3 separate regions of the Homo sapiens genome follow, and regions 2 and 3 are each linked to region 1. The links are contacts of gene promoters, found by promoter capture Hi-C in blood cells and fetal thymus (Javierre and others, 2016). All regions are on one chromosome and are shown on one strand. The core of a region is centred on a gene start or on the middle of the fragment in contact, and the rest is flanking DNA. Distances in the headings are between cores, read along the strand shown. Region 1 holds the start of PTGER4 (prostaglandin E receptor 4). Region 2 has its middle 81 kb from the start of LINC00603. Region 3 has its middle 18 kb from the start of LINC00603.

The links. Contacts are between HindIII fragments. The CHiCAGO score rates a contact against its expected background, and 5 or more counts as called.
Region 2: a fragment that was not itself captured here is called in contact with the fragment with the promoter of PTGER4 in region 1 in 1 of 17 cell types (total B cells); the score reaches 5.5 in total B cells.
Region 3: a fragment that was not itself captured here is called in contact with the fragment with the promoter of PTGER4 in region 1 in 3 of 17 cell types (total CD8 T cells, naive B cells and total B cells); the score reaches 7.1 in total CD8 T cells.

Annotation. Positions count from the first base shown.
Region 1 is chr5:40,678,107-40,682,776 of GRCh38, forward strand. PTGER4 (prostaglandin E receptor 4) reads left to right here and starts at 1,809. Exons shown (of 3, transcript NM_000958.3): 1 at 1,809-2,372; 2 at 2,845-3,754. The coding sequence starts at 2,888. RefSeq lists a silencer at 1,472-1,691 and an enhancer at 2,827-3,354. The HindIII fragment of the contact is 6,362 bases long and covers 1-4,670 here.
Region 2 is chr5:40,131,152-40,135,878 of GRCh38, forward strand. No RefSeq gene overlaps it. Among named protein-coding and RNA genes, the nearest start is that of LINC00603, 81 kb to the left of the region's middle. The HindIII fragment of the contact is 1,863 bases long and covers 2,186-4,048 here.
Region 3 is chr5:40,067,571-40,072,309 of GRCh38, forward strand. No RefSeq gene overlaps it. Among named protein-coding and RNA genes, the nearest start is that of LINC00603, 18 kb to the left of the region's middle. The HindIII fragment of the contact is 2,630 bases long and covers 1,691-4,320 here.

The DNA of each region.
Region 1 (4,670 bases), core at 559-3,058:
AAAATTTGTATTAGCAGAAAGTGAATATAAGGGACTTCCCAACCTCCCCTCCATATATTTACTGACAAGCAACTGACATGAGTGATAGCAAAGCAATGTGGTTAGTGAGGAATGGCGCAGAGTGTGCAGTTTCCTTTTTTCTAATGTTGATTTGTTTTCTGTGCTGACACAATCCTAGAGGTTACTGTTCAAAGGAAGCATCGACAACAGAAGTGATTAGAGTACTGATTAAAAGAAGATTTTTAAGAAAATGACCAATCACCATCAATCTTAATATTGGCTAACAAATGTGTATTTTTCTTTCTCATATTATTAAGTAAATAGTATAAACAGAATAATTCTTTATTAGTATATCCATATAGTGCCTTTTGCAAGTAAATATGATTCTGGATATTTTATGACCTGTAATTACTTGAAATCGGAAAGCCCTTTTAGTTTCTCTTATTACCCATGTGTTGCTGAGACTAACTGAAGAACCAGTTAGGAGGTTTGTTCGTTCACGAAATAACATTTAAGAAATGGGTACCTGCTTATCACATAAAAGAATCCAGTTATTTACTTACCCTGTGAGGAGACATAATATGTTAGAATGCTTGTACACTGCAGATGGGAAGAGGTTTTTCCAGGAATTTAAATTGTGCAATAAGGCCACACAATCTTACTTAAAAAAAATGGTGAAGGGGTTTTAATTACACCATGAAGTTTTACAATTTTTTAGGTTTTTAGTTCTGGTTTTAGAAAACAGAGTAGAAGGATTACAGAGAAAAACTTCACCATTAGACAAGAAGTCAAAATGATTCTAAGGGCCGCGCAAACAGGCTTTTCCAAGAATTAATCATGAGGTGGTGCTTGGAGAATTCCTTTACTCCAGTGACTTTGAAACCCCCTTCTCACTCTCCACTAGTCTTTCAAAGGATTCATGGTGAATTGGGTCTAACGAGTATAACACGGCCGGCCGAAGGCATGAAGCTCACGCTACCCTTTCAGGGCGGAGAAGTTCCCAGGAGGAAGAATGGAGAAAAAGATCGCAGTTAGGCAGTCCTCCCAACCTCACCAAGGCTCCACCTCTCTCCAAAGCCGCAAGGCTCTGCCACCTGCGCCGGGAGAGGCTGCAATCACTGTCTCCTCCTCTTTCTTTCTCTTTTTTTTTTTTCTTTTTTGCCTGGGGTGCCCGACCAAGCGCAGCCCGCAGTCTGGGCACTGCCAACTGACTCCAACTCCTTTTATGGTGAGAGGATGGATTCTTCGTTATTTCCCCGCCCAATCTGGTACCCACCCACCCACCCACCTACCACGTCCGCTGGGCGCACCCAAGTCTAACCCCGGGGCGCACGCGCTAGCGCAGACACCGTATTTCTTCTCCTTTCTCGGCCAACCCTAGGTAGAATCCTAAAACAACTGCCCTCTCTTCCACGATCTAGATGTTGCGGCCCGCGGACAGGAGGTTCAAGAAATAGTACACTCCGAGCGGCAGGCAGCGAGGCGGAAACGGTCGCCGGTTTCAGTGGTGGCCCCACTGGAAGCCGAGTTCAGGAGCGGCTAAGCGGTCGCCGGGGAAAGCACCGGGGCTTCCCAGGGTCCCCTCCGAGTTCCCACTCCGCACCTCCGAGGGCGTGAAAACCACGGGAGCCGCCCCACCCCGCGCGCCCAGCCCCGCCCCAGCCCAGACACCGCCCCCCGCCAGTCTTCCCTGCGGCGCCCAGGGAGGACGCGCTCCGCCCCCTTCCAATCCGGCCAATGGGCGCCCGGGCAGCGCGCGGTTTGCCTCCGCCTCCGCCAGGGAAACTTGGAGGAGGAGAAAAGTTTGTACAGAGGGTGGAAAGGCGAGAGCGGAGCTCCAAGCCCGGCAGCCCGAGAGGAAGATGAACAGCCCCAGGCCAGAGCCTCTGGCAGAGTGGACCCCGAGCCGCCCCCAGGTAGCCAGGAGCGGCCTCAGCGGCAGCCGCAAACTCCAGTAGCCGCCCGTGCTGCCCGTGGCTGGGGCGGAGGGCAGCCAGAGCTGGGGACCAAGGCTCCGCGCCACCTGCGCGCACAGCCTCACACCTGAACGCTGTCCTCCCGCAGACGAGACCGGCGGGCACTGCAAAGCTGGGACTCGTCTTTGAAGGAAAAAAAATAGCGAGTAAGAAATCCAGCACCATTCTTCACTGACCCATCCCGCTGCACCTCTTGTTTCCCAAGTTTTTGAAAGCTGGCAACTCTGACCTCGGTGTCCAAAAATCGACAGCCACTGAGACCGGCTTTGAGAAGCCGAAGATTTGGCAGTTTCCAGACTGAGCAGGACAAGGTGAAAGCAGGTTGGAGGCGGGTCCAGGACATCTGAGGGCTGACCCTGGGGGCTCGTGAGGCTGCCACCGCTGCTGCCGCTACAGGTGAGATGGCGTTGGGCTGACGTTGGGGTCAACGGGTAGAGAACGCAGGGATGCGGCCCTCGCCGAAGAGAGCCAAGAAGGGAAGAGCGCGCTCTCCAAATTGCTTTTGTAACTTGTTTTCAGTGAGCATTTTATTGATTCAGAATCTATCGAGAATAGCACTAGCGAGCTACTTTTCCCTTGAGATGGGTCTTATTCATCTTGGCAATGGAGTGAGTTGGATTGTGGGGAGGAAGAGGAATGGGAAAATCAGTTTATAAATATTAATGTCAGCAAGAGTGTGCTGTTGGCAGGACGTATCGCGAGCCTGGAGATTTTGGTGGCCGCAGTTGGTAAGTGGCTACAATCCAGAAAGTAGGATCGAGTTGCTCCCCTTGTCTTATCAGTGTATCGTTTCTCGGGCGCGGGTCTAACACCTTACAAGTGGTAATTTCCGCTCACGGCAGCTTTGTCTCTCTTCTACCATCCCCAGACCCAGCCTTGCACTCCAAGGCTGCGCACCGCCAGCCACTATCATGTCCACTCCCGGGGTCAATTCGTCCGCCTCCTTGAGCCCCGACCGGCTGAACAGCCCAGTGACCATCCCGGCGGTGATGTTCATCTTCGGGGTGGTGGGCAACCTGGTGGCCATCGTGGTGCTGTGCAAGTCGCGCAAGGAGCAGAAGGAGACGACCTTCTACACGCTGGTATGTGGGCTGGCTGTCACCGACCTGTTGGGCACTTTGTTGGTGAGCCCGGTGACCATCGCCACGTACATGAAGGGCCAATGGCCCGGGGGCCAGCCGCTGTGCGAGTACAGCACCTTCATTCTGCTCTTCTTCAGCCTGTCCGGCCTCAGCATCATCTGCGCCATGAGTGTCGAGCGCTACCTGGCCATCAACCATGCCTATTTCTACAGCCACTACGTGGACAAGCGATTGGCGGGCCTCACGCTCTTTGCAGTCTATGCGTCCAACGTGCTCTTTTGCGCGCTGCCCAACATGGGTCTCGGTAGCTCGCGGCTGCAGTACCCAGACACCTGGTGCTTCATCGACTGGACCACCAACGTGACGGCGCACGCCGCCTACTCCTACATGTACGCGGGCTTCAGCTCCTTCCTCATTCTCGCCACCGTCCTCTGCAACGTGCTTGTGTGCGGCGCGCTGCTCCGCATGCACCGCCAGTTCATGCGCCGCACCTCGCTGGGCACCGAGCAGCACCACGCGGCCGCGGCCGCCTCGGTTGCCTCCCGGGGCCACCCCGCTGCCTCCCCAGCCTTGCCGCGCCTCAGCGACTTTCGGCGCCGCCGGAGCTTCCGCCGCATCGCGGGCGCCGAGATCCAGATGGTCATCTTACTCATTGCCACCTCCCTGGTGGTGCTCATCTGCTCCATCCCGCTCGTGGTGAGTGACCGGGGCTGGGGCCCTACTCGGCCTTTTTCTCGCATCCACCTCCCGCGTCCATTCCCCGCTCCCTGCTTTCCCTCTGAGTCCTTGGCAGTGAACGTGTCGCCTTTAGGTCGGGGCTGGGATTCCCACACTGTTTCTCAGAGCAGGCCCAACCCTCTTTGAAGTCCCAACCCTAACGAGATTTAGCAGGTGCTTTGCCCCTACATCCCCCAGTTTATGTTCCCGGAAGCCTGGGTTTCTTTCTCCACCGAGACAGCCCTTACCCCTTGCTGCCTGACACTGGCCGAGTCTTCCAAGAAAACCCCCCGCCCCCTCTGTTAGACGTGGAGGGGAGCCTGCTGTAGTGTGACTTAGCCCATTCCTCCGTACTGTGAACTGTGAACTGCAAAACCTGAAATGTCAGGGATGGTGATCTGTTCGTTGTAAACCATTTTTAAGGAAAGTGGGGTTTTTGGTGTTTTGATGTATGCAAGGTTTCTTGAATTTCTTCCCCCGTGGATTGCGTAGAATTTTAAAGCTAGAAGAGATATCAAGAGGTGTTTTAGTCTAACTCCCTCACTTCACTGAGGGAGTGAATGATACGCTTAAAATAATCCAGCCGAACCTACACAGTCAAGCTAGGCTCCCTGCTCTTTACCATGGTGTGCCCTGGGAGGGCAGCTTAAAGCACACAAATTCTAATTCATATACAGGGCAGGGTCCAGACTCAGTTTCTTTCATTCTGTCTAGACCAGGAAAGCAAAGTTTCTCAGGGTGACTAATTATGGACAGGCTGATATACATAGGGTATGGGATTTGAATTCTCGACAACTGTGCGAGGTACAGTACCATTTTAGAGAAACCGAGGTTTAGAGATGGCTGTCTTTGTTTCTTCAAGCCAAAGCTCTACAGCTTGTAATGGACCTTAGGC
Region 2 (4,727 bases), core at 1,867-4,366, 550 kb before region 1:
TTGTACTTGAAACCCAGGGCCCTTGTGCTATAGGCACCCAAGGAAATCTCCTGGTCTGTGTGTTGCAAAGACCATGGAAAAGTTTAGTATCTGGGCCAGATAATACCATCCCTCACAGCATAGTCCCTCAAGGTTTCCTTTGGCTAGGGGAAGGAGTTCCCTAACTCCTTGTGCTTCCTGGGTGGGGCAATGCCCCACTCTGCTTCTGCTTGCCCTCCATGGGCTGCGCCCACTGTCTAACCAGTCCCAATGAGATGAACCAGGTACCTTAGTTGGAAATGCAGAAATCACCCACCTTCTGGATTGGTCTTGCTGGGAGCTGCAGACTGGAGCTTTTCCTACTTGGCCATCTTGCTCGGGAATCCCCCCAGTTAACCATTTTTATAGCCCATGAATTTTAGATGTTTACTTAAGTAAGAAACTTAAGGTTAAAATGTGGGTATTTTGCCAATAGCTCAGGATTTAGCTGTTTTCATTAAACCAACAATATTAAATGTTTTATTTATCAAAAATTACACAAGCAAAGATCTTTCTGTTCTGGGCTCAGTTTATTGTTTCATAACCCTCATGGCAACTTTTGACACCTTATAGTATTCTGCAGGGGTAAATATGAACCTTCTTGATCAAAAAATGGAACCAAAAATGCTAACAATTCTTAAGACACTTCTAATATTAATTTACCAATAATTTTGAAGCCAGACTATTTATTAAAGATTTTACTTAAGTCTCATGAAGCTGAAAAACATTTGAACTTATTATTTAATTTGTGAGTACTCTAACTTTAAGATAATTCAGTGCCTTGTGGGCAAAACACATAACAAAATACCTGTACATACATATAAACACATACATGCACACTCGTATTAACAAAGATCCTATAGCTCTTACTTTAGAACTCTAGCCCTGAGATATTAATACAAACTCACTGGTTTGCAAAAATGAACAAACATAAAACAGTTGGATCTCAATAGTGGTTTTTTTTTTTCTCAGTAGAAAAGTAACAGCAGATTTAAAGCAGACATAAAAGAAAACAGAGAAACGAGAAACTCTAAAGTTGCAGGTCAACATTTGGGCTCTGAATTTTTTCTTGCAGCAATTTGTCCATCAGTTTAAAATATGCACAAAATACCATTATATGTCCCTTTTATACAAACACTTGTAAGTAGAGGTGCCATAAAACCAATGGGATACCTGAAAGGTATATTTGTTCCCCATTTCTTTACGTTTCTCCTTTTCTTTTTTCTCTTTCTTTCTTTCTTTCTTTCTTTCTTTCTTTCTTTCTTTCTTTCTTTCTTTCTTTTTTGGAGGTACTGAGCTATGGCCTAGGGTTTATTATAGAGGTACAAGTGTGCTGATTGTAGGTGGGACTTCATAGTGTGTCACCACTGAGTGTTTCACCTGTCTTATGTGTCTCAGTTTCTCTCTTAGGACATCTAGAACCTCAGAGAGGGCTCAAAACATTAAGTGATCAGCTCTTAAATGTGTTTCCTGAACAAGCCTTTATAACTAATTTTGTTGGGGGTTCCCTGTGAGAAAAAGCAATGGAGAAGAACCTTTAGAATGCACCTCTGAACTAGAATTAGGATCCCAAACAACTACTTCCTAGGAGCAAAAAAAGAAAACAATAGCTCAGAATAAATGAAGGACTCTCAACCAACGGGGGGGCCAGGGCTCAGGAGAACTTACCAGTTCCACCAGAGGAGAAGCTCAAAGTCAGGGAGGGCTTTCAGTGGGTCCCTGCTGGTACCTTAGTTACAAATTTGGAGACCTGAGTCTTGCCTAAGACCCCATATGTTTGGTGCCAAATTATTGTCAAGGAAAAGAGTCAAACTGTGTGAAATACTTGAAGAGATTTATTCTGAGCCAAATGTGAGTGACCAATGGCCCATGACACAGCTCTCAGGAGATCCTGAGAACATGTGCTCACGGTGGTTGGGGTACAGCTTGGTTTTATATATTTTGGGAAGACACGAGACATCAGTCAATCCATGTAAGAGGGACATTGGTTTAGTCTGACAAGGCAGAACAACTGGAAGTGGGGGCTTCCAAGTCATAGGCAGATTAAAAAATCCTCTGATTGACAATTGATTGAAAGAGTTACTATCAATAGAAAGGAATGTCTGGGTTACAATAAGGGTTTGTGGAGACTATGGTTTTATTATGCAGGTGAAGCTTCCAGGTAGCAAGCTTCAGAGAAAATAGATTGTAACTATTTCTTATGAGACTCAAGGATTCTGTTCTATTAGTAATTCCAAAAGGGAGGGGAATATACTGAGGCATGTTCAACTCTCCTTTCCATCATGGCTTGAACTAGTATTTTAGGTTAGTTTTGGAATGCCCTTGCCAAGAGGGAGGATCCATTCCGATGGTTGGGGGACTTAGAATTTCAGTTTTGTTTTAGACTTCCCAAAGACCCCACTCTCTAATATAATCACATTGGGGGTTAAGATTTTTGCATATGAATTTTTTGAGGACAAAAACATTCAGTTCATAATATTGAGACAACGGCTCTTGAGAATAATTGGCTACTCAAGATACACCATCTGATCTCATTTATAGAATAAATTACTCTTTGGACTAGTTGATCTTTTAATCTGTGAGTATCAATCATAAAGTAATTTGTAACAGTGAAATCAAGAAAGGATTAAAACTCAAGAACTTCTCCCTCTCACACACACGCAATGTTCAGCTTAATAACTGCAATCCTGAAAACTACTATTTCTAATTTGAAAATATTGTTGGAGAGGAAAATATTGTTATCAATCAAGTAGTAACATAAATATCTTTGGGAAATTCCCTGAAATAAACTATAAGCCATCATTCTCTGTAAATCTTTCTTTTCTCAGAATGATTTTTCCCTCAATTGAAATCTAAACTTGTGTTAGTGAATACCATAAATTTAAAGAATACACAGTTCAAACTCTGAAAGCATGCTCGTCTCCAAACTATAAAAATCTTATAAATATCAAATACCCCTTATGATGATGTAGCAGAATGTGTTATGTGCTGCATTTCCCAGGACAAAGGATTCGGCCAGCTGCACTTCCTTCTTCTTTCAGCTGCCTATCACCTCCCCTTTTCCTCAGAGTCTGTAATGTCTACCTCCTTTACTGGTGTCACAGTCAAATGTAGCAAAACTCTTTCTTTATTGAAACTTTCAAATCACTGAGAAAGAGATGATTTCAAACCCAGCCATGGGAGCCTTTCCTGATTAAGAAGTTTGCTGTCAATTATCAAGTAAATTTTTCAAAAAAAGAAATATGTTGGTGCTGAATCATATATAACCTGTCCCGTGGAGAACTTAGTTCTCTGGGTGGGTATCTATTTTTTTCTAATTTGTTGAAAGTCAAAAAGATCAGTGAAGGTGGACAAGAAAGAAAATGAACAAAGAACATATGTCAGGCCCATGCAAGCAGAAGCTGAGCCTAAGAGCAAGCTCCAGGGGCCTCTACTGTTCCAGCAGAGATGGAGGTTAGGTGAATCAGCAGTCACCCCAGAGAAGGCCTGCAGAGTGACAGCCTAGGGTCTAGTGGGCCACATACAACACACTTACACTATACTCCTTTAGACCAACAGTATGGGGTGACAAAATTGGTTGGATATGAAGTTAGGAGACGTCCAACAAACTGTGAGATTTGGGGCCAATTGCCTAAATTCCATAGGCCTCAGCTTTCTCTGTTAAAAGCAGAGGTCAATAAGAGAAGTGGCTTTGAAACTTTTTAAAAAAATAGCTATTTTCTCCCCAAATGACAGATAGGTAGATGATAGATAGATAGATAGATAGTTTTACTATTTGAAACAGAGAGAAGTGAAGCTATTTAAGGGTACTGGACAGGAGTAACCCGATTCCCTGACTTTCCTCTTCTTGCCCCTTAATCCCAGTGGCTACTGAATCACTTCCATGGAGATTTTAGAGAACACTGGAGCGCAGTTTGGAAGGCCTTGCCAGGAAGCCACCTCAGGTCACATCATTTTAGATTTATTTTTCTAATGTGAAGAAAGTATTCATTAGATAGGGAAAGAAAATAAGAAATTTCTGATAAAAGCAAGCTTGGGCAAAGGTCAGAAATGGCCAATAAGTCATTTTTAAACTGTGTTACTTTCTACAAGCTACAGCCAGTGCATTTTCCCATGACCTAGAAGTCTAAGGAGTTGATGTTATGAAATATGGCTGGGTAAACTGAAAGAACCCAACTCTAGGGTGCTGGCATTAACTGTGATGTTTTGCAAGTTTTCTCACATTCCTATGTTTTCGTTTTTTTATTTGCACAGTCAGACAATATCTACCTCATATAGTTGTTTTGAAAATTTGATGAAGTGATTTATGAGAGTTTAGGGTAGAAGCTGACACACAGTAAGTACTGAGGGAATTATTGTTTTTATTGATGATGTTAATAAAGACATGCTGTGCTATCACTGCAAATATCAGCACAGCTTTTACTTCTGCATGACATTGAGGAGGCCACAAAAACTGACTGAACTCAAAGTCTGGCTACATGGTGGCCCCAAAATAAGGCATGACTGTTATTAAAGTAACAAGGAAAATCATAAGTCAAATAAGGAGTTACATTATCAATATGCAATTCTGCTAATGTTTCTTCTCAAAACTATATTTATTAATGTAATAGGTTTAGGTACCAATTTGAAATTATCATTTTCATATTTTACTGAATATTAAATGTCTTTTGAAATACAAAGGAATGGATTTTCAGAATTGCAGCTCTGAA
Region 3 (4,739 bases), core at 1,756-4,255, 610 kb before region 1:
AGATAAGATCAGAAAATGAGAATCATAAATAATTTAAAATAGATAATTGAAAGATATTTTAAAAAGTTTTAACATCTGAACTAATCAAAGGCTATTATTGAAATTATTTGACCAAGATCTGTTAATTTGTGAATAAGCCTCACCAAACTCTCCTTTAGACCCACAACATTCTTCTGTGCCAGCTGCATTCTAGTGTGATGAAAATGACTCTTTTCATTCTGACCAAAGTTCCCTTAATTTTACTTCTGCTTCATTATTCCATATAGCTACATAGCAATTTGCTTTAATAGTTTACATTCATTTTTATAAAATAAATTTTATGTGATTTTTAATAAAATATTGTATAATTTTAATAAAATATCAAGCCTTAAAAATACTAAATCATTTTTTAAAAAATTAAAAGATCTATGCACGTCCAAGGGAAGTACAGACTCCTACATAATTTTCTCTGCCTCTGGGTTCCAGACCTCTAATCACATTTAGAAACCCTAAAGTAGTCCATTTCCTGCTGGCTGAGCTCCAAATTTAGGGGAGAATTTAAACGAGGAAAATTCTTCACAATAGTGGTATGACAAATAGTCACCAAAAAGTTTTGGGGCATCTTCCTTGCAATGAGCCCTCAGAGATATGGAAAGCAAACGAGAGTATGTCTCATGCAAAGAAACAGAACAGTATCTTGTACAACTCATTATTTTTCATCTGTGAAAAAAGATAGGAGATCTACAGAGAATTCAGAATAAGAGCCCTCTCTACTCTTACCTGGTGTTAATCACCATTGAGAACATCTAGGATACTCAGCTCTCTTCAGTGCCCAGAAAAGAAAGTGCTATAACACAGTGCTGGTGACCTTGTAGGCAAATTCCTACACAAAAGGCCCTTGTGTATAGTACACAGGATCATAAGTTATTACTAACACTCTCTTCTCTTTACCTTATTATGTTTTTCACTAGTCCCAGGGACTATGGGCACTGCACATTTTTTAAAGCTAATAGTGAAGAGTACTTATAAGTCAAACACATGAATGTATAAGCCCATATAATTCTTTGGTTGATAACAAAACACATAGCAAAAGCTAAATAGTATGAATTATAAAAATTCCGAAGATAATATTTTGTTGAGGTTTAAGAAATTATCAGCTCATGGCGAAACCCTGTCTCTACTAAAAATACAAAAAATTAGCCGGGGGTGGTGGCGGGCGCCTGTAGTCCCAGCTACTGGGAGGCTGAGGCAGGAGAATGGTTTGAACCCTGGAGGTGGAGCTTGCAGTGAGCTGATATCCTGCCACTGCACTTCAGCCTAGGCGACAACTGCACTCCAGCCTGGGAAACAGAGCGAGACTCCATCTCAACAAACAAACAAACAAACAAACAAACAAAAACAACAAAAACATTATCAGCCCAATAGTAGTTCAAAGTGCCACTGAATCTTTTTAAAAAATTTTTCAATCACGAAGTAGTCATTCACAAAAGATTCAGGCTTTGGATGGTAGCAGATGCTGCTGCTATGTCTATCCCCTGAAATGACTGGCTAGGTTGCTATATATCCACAAAAATGAATGGAGGATAACAAGCCAGAGTTATATCCACAGCTTTATTGCAGAACCCTTCCTGTGCACAGCAGAGTCTGGACTTTCATGCATGATGTGACAGTGGAGCTATCTCTCCTGAAGCCAGGAGAAAAATCCGCATCAAGCTTCTGTGGTGTGTCAGTATCAGGCACCCAACTGTTGGTAAAACAAAGGAAGCTGTCTCTACAACCAACTAGGAAAAAGAGGAATCTGGCTTTAATTTTAAATCCCCTGCTCAACTAGACCTTATGTAAACAGACAACAACCCTCTACTCCCAAGCAAGATCTTAGTGCTATACTCCTTAACAAACTTGTATTTTTAATCACCATACAAAATAGCATACGTTGATATTGTAAACAAAACATAGTACTTATTTGTGTATCATCTGCTTAAATCCTTCCAATAGTTTCCCATTCTATAGGAATATGAAACTTCCTTATCCTAGCTCACAGAGCACCACATAATATGGCCCATTTTTCTTTCTTTGGCCTCCTCTCTTATACTCCTTACTTTACTCTCTCTTTTCCAGCCACCTTGGCCTTCTTTGTTTCCTCCAAACCACCAAGTTTATTGCTCCACAAGAGCCTTTGCTCTAGCCATACTCTCTGATGGTAGAGATGCCTGTCCCCAGTTTTTTTTCCCAGCTGGCTGCTGCTTGTTAGTCAGATCTCGGGTCACTGTCACCTTCAACAGCAAGGTTCTCTCAACCATCCAACCAATGTAGATGTCTTGACACTGATTATCATATTGCCTATTTAATTATTTTCATTGCACACATCACTACCTGATGATTTTGTCACTTGATTATTTATTTTTATCTATTTATTATCCATCAGTGCTCCCCCCCAAAAAAATGCAAGTTATATGAAAATAAAAAACTATCACAGTCACTGATATAAGCCCAGTGCTTACCTGATATGTAGGTACTGTGGTTTGAATGTGTCCCCTCCAAAATTCGGGTGTTGCCAACATGATAATATTAAGAGGTGGGACCTATAAGGCATGACATTTTAAAAATTTGTTATGTTTTTAAAATCTTTTAAATCTTGAAGTATTCATTCACAAAAAAGCATTTAGATGGCAGCAGATTCTGCTGCTACATCTATACCCTAAAACAATTGGCTAGGTTACTAGATAGCTACAAGAATGAATGGAGGATAACAAACCAGAGGGCAAAGTCAATGCATGAAGCCAGGAGGGATCTACCCTTGTACATGGGATTAGGTGTCCTTTAAGGGGCTTCATGGAGGGACTTGATTCTCTCTCACCTTTCTGCCTTCTGCACGTGAGAACAAGGCAAAACAGTCCTTACCAGATGCCAACACATTGATTTTGTTCTTTCCAGCCTCCAAAACTGTGAGAAATGAATTTCCTATTTTAAAAAATTGCCCAGTTTGTGGTACTCTGTTATAGCAGCACAAATGAACTAAGATGGAAATTAGTACTAAGGAGCTAGGTGTTGCTCTAACAAGCACCTGAAAATGTGGAAGTGGCTTTGGGACTGGATAATTGGTAGAGGCTGAAACAGTTGTGAAGTGAATGATGTAAAAAGCCTATATGGCCATAAACAGATTAAGGATGATTCTAGTCAAGGCTCAGAAGAAGAGCTGTGGGGCAAAGCTCAGTCTTTTGAGAGATTTCTTCACTGGTTGTGGCAGTGGAGATTATTCTGATGAGGTCTCAGATGGAAATTAGGAACAATGTACTGGAGACTGGAGGAAAGGTCATCTTTGTTATAAAGTGGAAAGGAACTTGGCTGAATTGTGTCTATGTTCTAGGACTTTTCAGAAGACAGAGCTTAAGAACGATGAACTAGAATATTTCACAGAAGAAATCGCTAAGCAGAAAAGTGTTCAGGATGCTGCATGGCTTCTCTTAACAGGTTATAGTAAAATGCAAAAAGAGAGAAATGATTTAAAGACAGGATATATACTTAAAGGGAAAGGAGAATGTACAGATTTGGAAAATTCTCAGCCTGGGCATGTAAAGAATAAAAAGGCAATTTTAGGAGAGAAAATCAAGGGCATGGCTAAGCAAACATTTGATAAGATTAGTACGGCTAGAAGGAATCCAGATGCTATTCATCAAGACAATGGAAGCATGACCTCAAAGGGGTTTTTGAGATCTTCAAGGCTTCCATTCCTATCACAAGCCCAGAATGCTAGGGTCTTAGGGTCAGAAAGGATTCAGGGGATGGGTCCAGTGTCTGTGGGACCTAGCTTCCCAAGGCCTCCTTAGATCTCTGTTCCCTGCATCCTGGCATAGCACTCTTTGGGCACCCTAGATATGGCTCAAGCTGGCCCAGGTGCAGCCTGGACCACCACTCCAGAAGGTGTAAACAATGAGCTTTGGCAATGATCATGTGGTGCTAATTCTGTAGGTGTGTAGAGTTCGGAGCTGTGGAGGCATGGCTGCCTCTACCTATATTTCAAAGATGTCTCAGACAGCCTTAAATCCCAGGCAGGTACCTGCCCCATGGGTGGTGCTATGGCAGAGAATTCTCACTAGGGCAATGCTGAGTGGCTATGTGGGGGCAGGGCCATCCTTGAGAAAGACATCTTTAACTGTAAAGCCACCAGCACGTAGTGTCAGGCTAAGATCACCATAGGCATATGCCTTCAATGCATGACAGTTGAAGCCAGGGTTGCACCCAGCAAAGCCATGGGATGGGGCTGCTTGAGGCCTTGGGGGCCCAACTGTCATTCTAGCATATCCAGAAGGTGGGACATGGAGTGAAAGAAGATTATTTTCAAGCTTTAAGATTTAATGCTGTTAGCCCTGTTGAGTATTCAACTAACTTGGGATCTATTACTCTTTTCTTCTTTTGTTCTATCTTTCCCTTTTGGAATGGGAATGTTTACCCTATGCCTGTCTCAACATTGTGTTTTGGAAACATGTAATGTTTGATCTCACAGGCTCACAGCTGGAGGGATATTTTCCTCAGGATGAATCATGCCTTGAGTCTTATTCATATCTGATTTACATGAGACTTTGGACTTAAACTTTCAAGTTGAAGCTGGAATGAATTAAGAATTCTGGGGCTATTGAAATAAAATAAATGTATTTTATATGTGAGAAAGACATGAATTTTGAGGGACTATGAGTGGAATGCTTTATAGTTTGAATCTATCCCCTGGTGGGGACTGTAAGAGGTGATTAGGCCATGAGGAA